Linked DNA regions of Homo sapiens: regions 2 and 3 are each linked to region 1. The links are contacts of gene promoters, found by promoter capture Hi-C in blood cells and fetal thymus (Javierre and others, 2016). All regions are on one chromosome and are shown on one strand. Each heading gives the region's core, a stretch centred on a gene start or on the middle of the fragment in contact. The rest is flanking DNA. Distances are from core to core; before and after follow the strand shown.

Evidence for each region. The method cuts DNA at HindIII sites, captures the fragments that hold promoters and counts their contacts. A CHiCAGO score of 5 or more calls a contact.
Region 2: the fragment with the promoter of GAREM2 here is called in contact with the fragment with the promoter of RAB10 in region 1 in 11 of 17 cell types (activated CD4 T cells, naive CD8 T cells, naive CD4 T cells and 8 more); the score reaches 8.9 in activated CD4 T cells.
Region 3: a fragment that was not itself captured here is called in contact with the fragment with the promoter of RAB10 in region 1 in 1 of 17 cell types (megakaryocytes); the score reaches 6.0 in megakaryocytes.

The regions. Positions count from the first base shown.
Region 1 is chr2:26,032,676-26,035,375 of GRCh38, forward strand. RAB10 (RAB10, member RAS oncogene family) reads left to right here and starts at 1,409. Exons shown (of 6, transcript NM_016131.5): 1 at 1,409-2,060. The coding sequence starts at 1,934. LOC124907743 (a long non-coding RNA gene) reads right to left here and starts at 1,074. Exons shown (of 2, transcript XR_007086249.1): 1 at 1,003-1,074. RefSeq lists a silencer at 1,075-1,304 and an enhancer at 1,615-1,664. The HindIII fragment of the contact is 14,591 bases long and covers 1-2,700 here.
Region 2 is chr2:26,171,816-26,174,515 of GRCh38, forward strand. GAREM2 (GRB2 associated regulator of MAPK1 subtype 2) reads left to right here and starts at 1,273. Exons shown (of 6, transcript NM_001168241.2): 1 at 1,273-1,517. The coding sequence starts at 1,406. The HindIII fragment of the contact is 3,276 bases long and covers 1-2,700 here.
Region 3 is chr2:25,853,731-25,856,430 of GRCh38, forward strand. The region is part of intron 1 of ASXL2 (ASXL transcriptional regulator 2); the gene reads right to left. Among named protein-coding and RNA genes, the nearest start is that of ASXL2, 23 kb to the right of the region's middle. The HindIII fragment of the contact is 5,052 bases long and covers 1-2,700 here.

The sequences.
Region 1 (2,700 bases), core at 159-2,658:
GAGAGAAAAAGGGTGGCGTAAACAGGACTGATGGGGAGAGAGAACAGAAGGTAAAGCAAATGCAAAGAAAATGCGAGGGCCCGGGCGCGGGGGCTAACGCCTGTAATCCCAGCACTTTGGGAGGCCGGGGCGGGCGGGTCACCTGTCAGGTGTTCGACACCAGCCTGACTAACAGGGTGAAACCCCGTCTCTACTAAATACAAAAAATTAGCCGGGCGTGGTAGCACATGCCTGTAATCCCAGCTACTTGGGAGGCCGAGGCAGGAGAATCACTTGAACCCAGGTGGTGGAGGTTGCAGTGAGCAGAGATTGTGCCATTGCACTCTAGCCTGGGCAACAAGAGCGAAACTCCATCTCAAAAAAAAAAAAAAAAAGAAAGAAAAGAAAAAAAGAAAAAGAAAATGCGAGGAAACGAGCGAAACTCCATCTCAAAAAAAAAAAAAAAAAAAAGAAAGAAAAGAAAAAAAGAAAAAGAAAATGCGAGGAAGCAGGCTGTGTCGGACTGGGAGTAGGCTTGACCACCTTTCAATTTTCAACCCAGTGGTACGACGCTGGCGGCAGGCAGAGGCCCCACCTCCTCTGCAGAGCGCTCTCGGGTTCTCCCGGATTCCTGAAGGACGGCAAAGGCCTGAAGCAGGTTCTCTGAGCACCGCACAGAACCCTCCACTTCGCAGGGAGGTTCTTCCTGCGCCCAGGTGTTCCTCAACCTTCCTCTCCTCGCCCAGGAAGAGGTTGTGAGGATTACCTCATCCCAACCCGAGCGGCGTGGCCAGCTTTTCCATCTCAAACTCTTGCTCTTGAAGTCAATCCGGATGGAGCGCTCATGTTTCCCCGTCAGGGCTGGCCCTGGAGAGGGGGCACGCCGGGAGGCGTCTCGTTCTAGCAAAGAGGCTATTAAATGACCCAGGGCGCGGCTTTTTCTCGCGTTTACGAGCTCCACCTACACGGGAACACATGGCCACCCAAGCCCGTCGCTGCGCCAAGACCTCCAGCTCAACACACCCGACAAGCGCTGTGCAGAGAAACCGCAGCGCAGTCCAGCGGGAGACCCCGGGAGGGGAAGGAGGTGCTGGGCTCTGTAAGGGTGTCCCGGGGAGCGGGGAGCGGGAGGCGGGAGGCGGGGGTCGGAGGGGGGGCGCTGCGCCTGCGCAGTCGCTAGGTAGCGTCTCCCCCGGGGCGTGCTCGTAACGCCGCGCACCCTATCAGGCGGCCACAGGGAGCGCGCCCGCGGCCTCGCCCTTTCTCGCCCCTCCCTTCTCCCCTCTGGGTCCAGCCTCAGACTGAGGCTTGGAGACAGGAGCATTCCACTCGCCACTTCGGCGCGCCCCCATGCCCTCTTGTGCGCGTGCGCAGAGGCGGACCGCAAGGCTAGGGCGTGAGGGAAGGGCGGGCGTACGCCCTTGCGTGCGTCTCAGGCAGCGCGCACGCCGGCGTGAGAGGGCACGGGGAAAAGGTGGCTCTGGCCGGGGTGGCTCGGTTTCCTGGGGCTATGTAACTGAGCTCGTCGACTTAGGGGTCCTTCTTCGCTGCCCTCGCCGCGTGCTAGCAGGGAGTTTCCGCTCGGGAGAGAGACTGTCCTCACGCCCGCTGCGCCTCCTCGACGGCAGAGCAGGCTTGCTCGCCCGTGGGAGCGTCCCGGCCGAGAAGCCCTGAGGGGGGAGGGGAGGCCATTTTGTCCCGACCGACTCCCCGGAACCGGGCGGACGGGCTGGGAGAGGCTGCGGAGCCGCGGTCGCCGCCCTCGGAGGCACTGGACGCCGCCACTGTCGGGGCTTCCTCAAAGCTGTTCGTAGGTCGCCCGCGCCGTCTCGAGCCTTTTTCCCACGCTTCCCCGGTCCTCCGGCCTGAGAACGCCCGAGTGAGGAGTTGGCCGTAGTGAGAGGGACCGATCCCTTGGGGCCGCCGGCGGCGAGAGCCCGAGCCGCTCCTCCCAATGGCGAAGAAGACGTACGACCTGCTTTTCAAGCTGCTCCTGATCGGGGATTCCGGAGTGGGGAAGACCTGCGTCCTTTTTCGTTTTTCGGATGATGCCTTCAATACTACCTTTATTTCCACCATAGGTAAGACCTGTGGGAGGACGGTGTACGGTCTCGGTAGCTGCATACCGTTTATTTTACTCCAGACATCTTGCTTCCCGTAATATACGCCTTTGTTTCAGTGATTCCGATTCCAAACGACACATCCAAGTTACTGTTTGAATCGGCATCGAGCTTACTGGGGCGGGGTCTTCCCATGATTTCCATCCGGTCTTTTGCTTTCGAGTCTCCCACTATGCTCAGTGCCTTCTGTTACAAAATATGCATCATTTAACCATGTTCCAGAACCTTATTTCTTCAGGCGACTGGACTGGCTTTTTCCACATTTGCGTGGAATTAGTAGATGTGTGATATTTTTAAGGTATTTATTTCAGTGGTTGCGATTGAAGCAGTACTAGCTATTTGGGAAAGGCCTGAATTTATACTTTGGGGCAAAGAAAAGATTCCATATGGTGATAACTTAGAGTAAACTTGAGGGTTTCTGAGAAGAATAATTAAGGTAAATTAGAAGGGAAGAGTGAGTTGCCCTCATTCACTAATCCATTGATGTGTCAAACAATCGGAGGCTCTTCGCGCTTGGGGTGGGACTCTGGCATATTTGCCTCAGTGCTTTTCGAGACATCAACAGAAGCAGTAATCTGAGGGAGATGATCAGTTTCTGTCC
Region 2 (2,700 bases), core at 23-2,522, 140 kb after region 1:
TTAAAAGAAGGGAACGAAGGCTGGGCGCGGTGGCTTACGCCTGTAAGTCCAGCACTTTGGGAGGCCGAGTCGGGAGGATCGCTTGAGGTCAGGAGTTCAAGACCAGCCTGGCCAACATGGTGAAACGCCGTCTCTACTAAAAATACAAAAAAATTAGCCAGGAGTGGTGGCAGGTGCCTGTCATCCCAGCTACTCCGCAGGCTGAGGTGGGAGGATCGCTTGAGCCCGGGAGGTGGGGGTTGCAGTGAGCCGAGATCGCGCCACTGCACTCCAGGCTGGGTGATAGAGTGAGACCCAGTCTCAAAAAAAGAGAAGGAAAAGAGAGAAGGGATGGTGGCGGTGGGGGAGGAAGGCGGTTCTTGTAATGATCCGAGAGGAGACCGCAGCACCGGTTACGCCCTCGAACCTCGGCCTCCTCATCTGCAGAATGGACGCAGTCCACACCGCGTGCTGTGGAAGGGTTGGAGCGCCGGTTTACATGACACAGGGCTATCGGCTAAGGGGGCGCTGGGAACGTGGAAGGTGCTCTATGGTGGGGCGCTGTAGGGTGCTCTTGGGCAGTAGGGTTGGAGTCAAATCTGGGTTGAAGTCCAACCTAGGTTGAAGTCCTGGCTGCCACCTGACCTCTGCCCCTCAGTTTGCTCATCAGTAAAATGGGGTTAAGGAGGCTGCCTCGCCCAGCTCCACGGAGCCGGAGGTGATGAAGGTCCTGGAAGAGCAGAATTCAGAACCCGAGCTTTGGGCGGCGGAGCAGGACAGGGCGCGGGTGGGCGCGGCCTCCGGGAGGCCAGCACGAGGGGGAGCGGCGGGGCCCGGACACACCCAGCCAGAAGGAGGAGGCCGACCCCGCGCCGACTCCGCAGATGCCGCTCGGGACTTCGTTGTCCCTCCAGGCGCCCGCCCTGGGGTCCTCCATCACCCGCCGTCACCTGGGCGCGGGGAAGCTGGCGGGAGGGGAGGCGGGGCTTGGCGGCAGCGGCGGGTGGGGGCCGGGGAGCGGGGGCAGGGGCGGGCGGACGGAGCGCGGGGCTGGGGACCCGGGGTCCCAGAAGGGGGCGCGGGGACGGGGTCCGAGGAGAGGGGGCCGGGGCGGGGCAGGGCGGACAGGGCTGGGGGCGGAGGTCCGGGGGTGGGTCCGGCGGCGAGTCCGGGTCGGGGCGGACAGAGCAGGGGGCGGGGGTCCGGGAGGAGGGGGCCGGGGTCCGGGAGGAGGGGGCGGGGCCCGGGGGCGGGGCCGGGGTCGGCGCCCTGCGGGGAGGCCGGCCACGTGACGCCCGCGGCCCGGCGGGGCTGCCAGGCGGCGAGCGCCGCGGCGGCCCCGGGAGGTGGCGGCGGGCGCGAGAGCCTGGGCCGCGCGGGACTGACCGTCGGGGCCCCGGGACGGCGGCCCCGGGGCGCCCATGCCATGGAGAAGCTGGCGGCCGGGCTGGCCGGCCTGCGCTGGAGCATGGGCGCCTTCCCGCTCGACCTCATCGTCAGCCGCTGCCGCCTGCCCACGCTCGCCTGCCTTGGGCCAGGTACCGGGGTCGCTGGAGATGGGGACCGGGGTCCGCGGGGAAATGGTGGGCTCTCCAGCCAGGGGCCAGAGGGATCGTGAGGAGGGTGCGGCACCCGCACCCTCCCAGCTCCCCGGCGTGGGCCCCGAGCGGTTCCTGGCGCGCCTCCCGGGAGACGCGGGGCCCACCCGCCAGGTCCGCCTCCTGGGCCCCGCGGACAAGCACAGGCACAGACACCGGGGACAGGGCCCGGGACAGAGTTTTCCCGCCCAGCTGGAGTCCGGAAAGGGGCCGAGCCCCTGCTCCCGCCCCGTCGGTTGCCCCCCTTTCCCCCGCTGCCCCTGGGCCCCCCGCCCCGGCCGCGCCCCCTTGGTCCCTTTGTCCCTGGCCTCTCACCTCTGTCTTCCCTCATCCCTGGGACCCGGACTCTGTCTTCCCCTTACCGCCACCCCTAGTCCTGCTCCGCCCCTCTGGGGACCCTTCTTGCACCTCCTTTCTCTTCCCTAGGAGCAGCCTCGGTCCTGGGGCGGGCAGGCCACCTTCGGGAGAGGCCGGCGGGAGCCGGGTCTGCTGCCCGGCGTGACCCCCAAACTCCCGGCCCTCCCCCGAATCTTGTCCCACTTCTTAATAGGACCTGGGGCCCCCAGCCGCTCGGCTGATGGAACCACGCATGGGGGCCCGAGAGGGTACGCCCGGAGGCTGCATGGAGCGAGGGGACCGTTTGGGGGGAGGGGGGTGCTGCTTGGTTGGGGGATGGGCGGTAGCCGGGGCTGGCAGCCAGGCCGGGGGTTTTGTGTGTGAGAAGAATAGGGGTTTGGCCCGCGTTGGCACACTCGCTTCCATGAATGCTAATGGGGCCCGCGGCCGCAGGCTCCTCGTCTCCCCGTGGGGCCCGGCAGCCCCTCCTCCGTGGCGGCCAGGAGTGGGCACAGTGGGCGTCAGCTGTCCCGGGAGCAGGCTCATGGGGGAGCATCGGCGCCCCGCCGTCGGGCAGGCCAGCGTCTAGTTCTCTGGCTCGCGGCCGAGTGGTCAGAGTGTGGTACTGTGTCTGCCTGTGAATGGAGGTCGCTGCCCTGGGGTCTTCTGGCCACTTCCCACACATCCTTTTTGGCATCTCCCCTTTCTGGGCAGCTTTTCTGAGCTCCTCGGTCTGCGTAGGGCCTCCTTTGGGCTCCCCGGCCACCTCATGCCAACTCTGGCTTGT
Region 3 (2,700 bases), core at 113-2,612, 180 kb before region 1:
ACTCCTGGGCTCAAGCAATCCTCCTGCCTCAGCCTCCCAAGTAGCTAGGACTACAAGTGTGAACCACCATGCCCAGCCTTATTCATCTAGTATTACTAGTGCCTATTATATGACAGATCTAAAACACTTAATGGTTGGCTGATGGAATTAGGAACATATGTGGCAAGATTAGCTTCAGACACTAGTAAAAATGCCTCTTTTTAAAAAAGGATAAAAGGTGAGGGAAAATGCAAATAAATTTACAGATTTGGGCGCAGAAACTTGAGTGTAAAAGTAGCTGAGAATACTTAAATACGAAACCTATACAGAGAGGCACCTACAGATATACAGAGAAGATTACAGAAGCTGACATTGTAAGCTCATGGGCATAGTTTACCTAGGGGTCCCTCAATTCTGAACAGCTCTATCAAGTCACTTGGGTTTAGTCTTTCCTAGCTTGGATTCTTTTAATTATCCAAAAAGTCTGGAGGTTATACACACTCCCTAGTTCAAGAAAAAAAGCTCTCAACCAAACTCTCTTCAAACTCTTTAGAGTTAATAACACTAACAGTTAATACTTATCTAGCATTTAACTGCCAAGCACTATTCTAAGTGATTTAGATATATTAGCTTATTTAACCTTTACAATAAACCTATGAGGTAGATACTATCAGCCCATTTTTTTTCAGATGTGAAAACTGAAGTGCAGAGAAATTAAATAACTTGCCTAAGGTTTTGTCAGCTAATTAATGAAAAGAGCCACTGCTGCTGCTGAGTTGTCCAACTTGTCATCAGCAGAATCCAACTCTCAGAACCCTGTTATAATTCCTCAAAAAGAAGAGCCAACCACTTCGGTGGCTCTGAAGGTGACAGCAATTTGTAGCTTAACCTAGTAGGTGCTCCTCAGTGCTTCCACATCTAATGATAAAAGGCAAGTACAGCATATGGCAAAGGCATGATATGGAAAAGAGAAATAGGGGCTTAGACTCCTCAGGAATGATGGCTTCAGGCAAGCAACCTTGATCAGCTGCAGTCTGGCCATGAGTGACGGAAATCTAGACTAGGCAGTGGCAGAAGGAGATGATGAATATTAATACGGCCTTGGAACCAGCTACTGCAGCAGAGACTATGACCTATTCCACTCATCCTCTATAGTAAGCCATTTTAAGAGACTGCTGCCAGTGTCTGTCTTGAGGAGCTGATGTCAAGAACAGGCTTACTGTAGAGCACAAGCCATTAAGAAACACATCCAAATAGAAACTTTCAGTGTCCTGCAACACACATATCCCTCAAGAACCTCCTCAGCTCTGGCAGACAGTGCCGCTCACACACTGCCAGCATGCCACCTTCGCTCATGCTGCTCTGTATATGACATACCTTCCCTACTCCTTTTGACAGATACCTCAAAGTTTATCTATCACTCAACAAAATAGCAAAGATTTTTAAACTGGTAATATTAAATTCTTCAAGAGTTGAATCAGACAGGCACATACACACTAAACAGTGGAGAGGGTAAAATGATACACCTTTATAGATAGTAACTTGGTAACAGGCCAGGCGCAGTGGCTCACATCTGTAATCCCAGCACTTCTTGGGAGGCCGAGGTGGGTGGATTGCTTTGAGCCCAGGAGTTAGAGACCAGCCTGGGAAACATGGTGAAACTCTATCCCTACTAAAAATATAAAAATTAAGCTCATGCCTGTAATCTCAGCACTTTGGAAGGCCAAGGCGGGCAGATTCCCTGAGGTCAGGAGTTTGAGACTAGCCTGGCCAACATGCCAAAACCCCGTCTCTGCTAAAAACACAAAAATGAGCTGGGTGTGGTGGTGCATGCCTGTAATCTCAACTTGGGAAGCTGAGGCAGGAGAATCACTTGAACCCAGGAGGTGGAGGTTGCAGTGAGCTGAGATCATGCCACTGCACTCCAGGCTGGGCGACAGAGTGAGACTCTTGTCTCAAATAAATAAATAAAAATATAAAAATTAGCCGAGCATGCTGGCACACACCTGTGGTCCCAGCTACTCAAGAGGCTGAGTGGACTGCTTGATCCCGGGAGGCAGAGGTTGCAGTGAGCCGAGATCGTGCCACTGCACTCCAGCCTGGGCGACAGAGCGAGACTCCGTCTCAAAAAAAAAAAAAAGAGAGAGAGACAGAAACACAATCTTGATAATGCATTTATTTATTTATTTATTTATTTATTTAGAGACAGAGTCTCGCTCTGTCGGCCAGGCTGCAGTGCAGTGGCGTGATCTCAGCTCACCACAGCCTCCGTCTCCCGGGTTCAAGCAATTCTCTGACCTCAGCCTCCCGAGTAGCTGGGATTACAGGCATGCACCACCATACCTAATTTTTGTTTTTTGTTTTTTGAGACGGAGTCTCACTTTGTCGCCAGGCTGGAGTGCAGCAGTGCAATCTCGGGTCACTGCAACCTCCGCCTCCTGGGTTCAAGCAATTCTCCTGCCTCAGCCTCCCAAGTAGCTGGGACTACAGGCCTGTACCACCATGCCCAGCTAATTTTTGTATTTTTATTAGAGATGGGGTTTCACCATGTCGGCCAGGCTGGTCTCAAACTCCTAACCTCAGGTGATCCGCCCACCTCAGCCTCCCAAAGTGCTGGGATTACAGGCATGAGCCACTGCTCACCTGGCCTATACTTTTTTTTTTTTTTTTTTTTTGACACCAGTGTTTATTTCAGGAAGCAGGTCTGGAAGACCTGGGTCT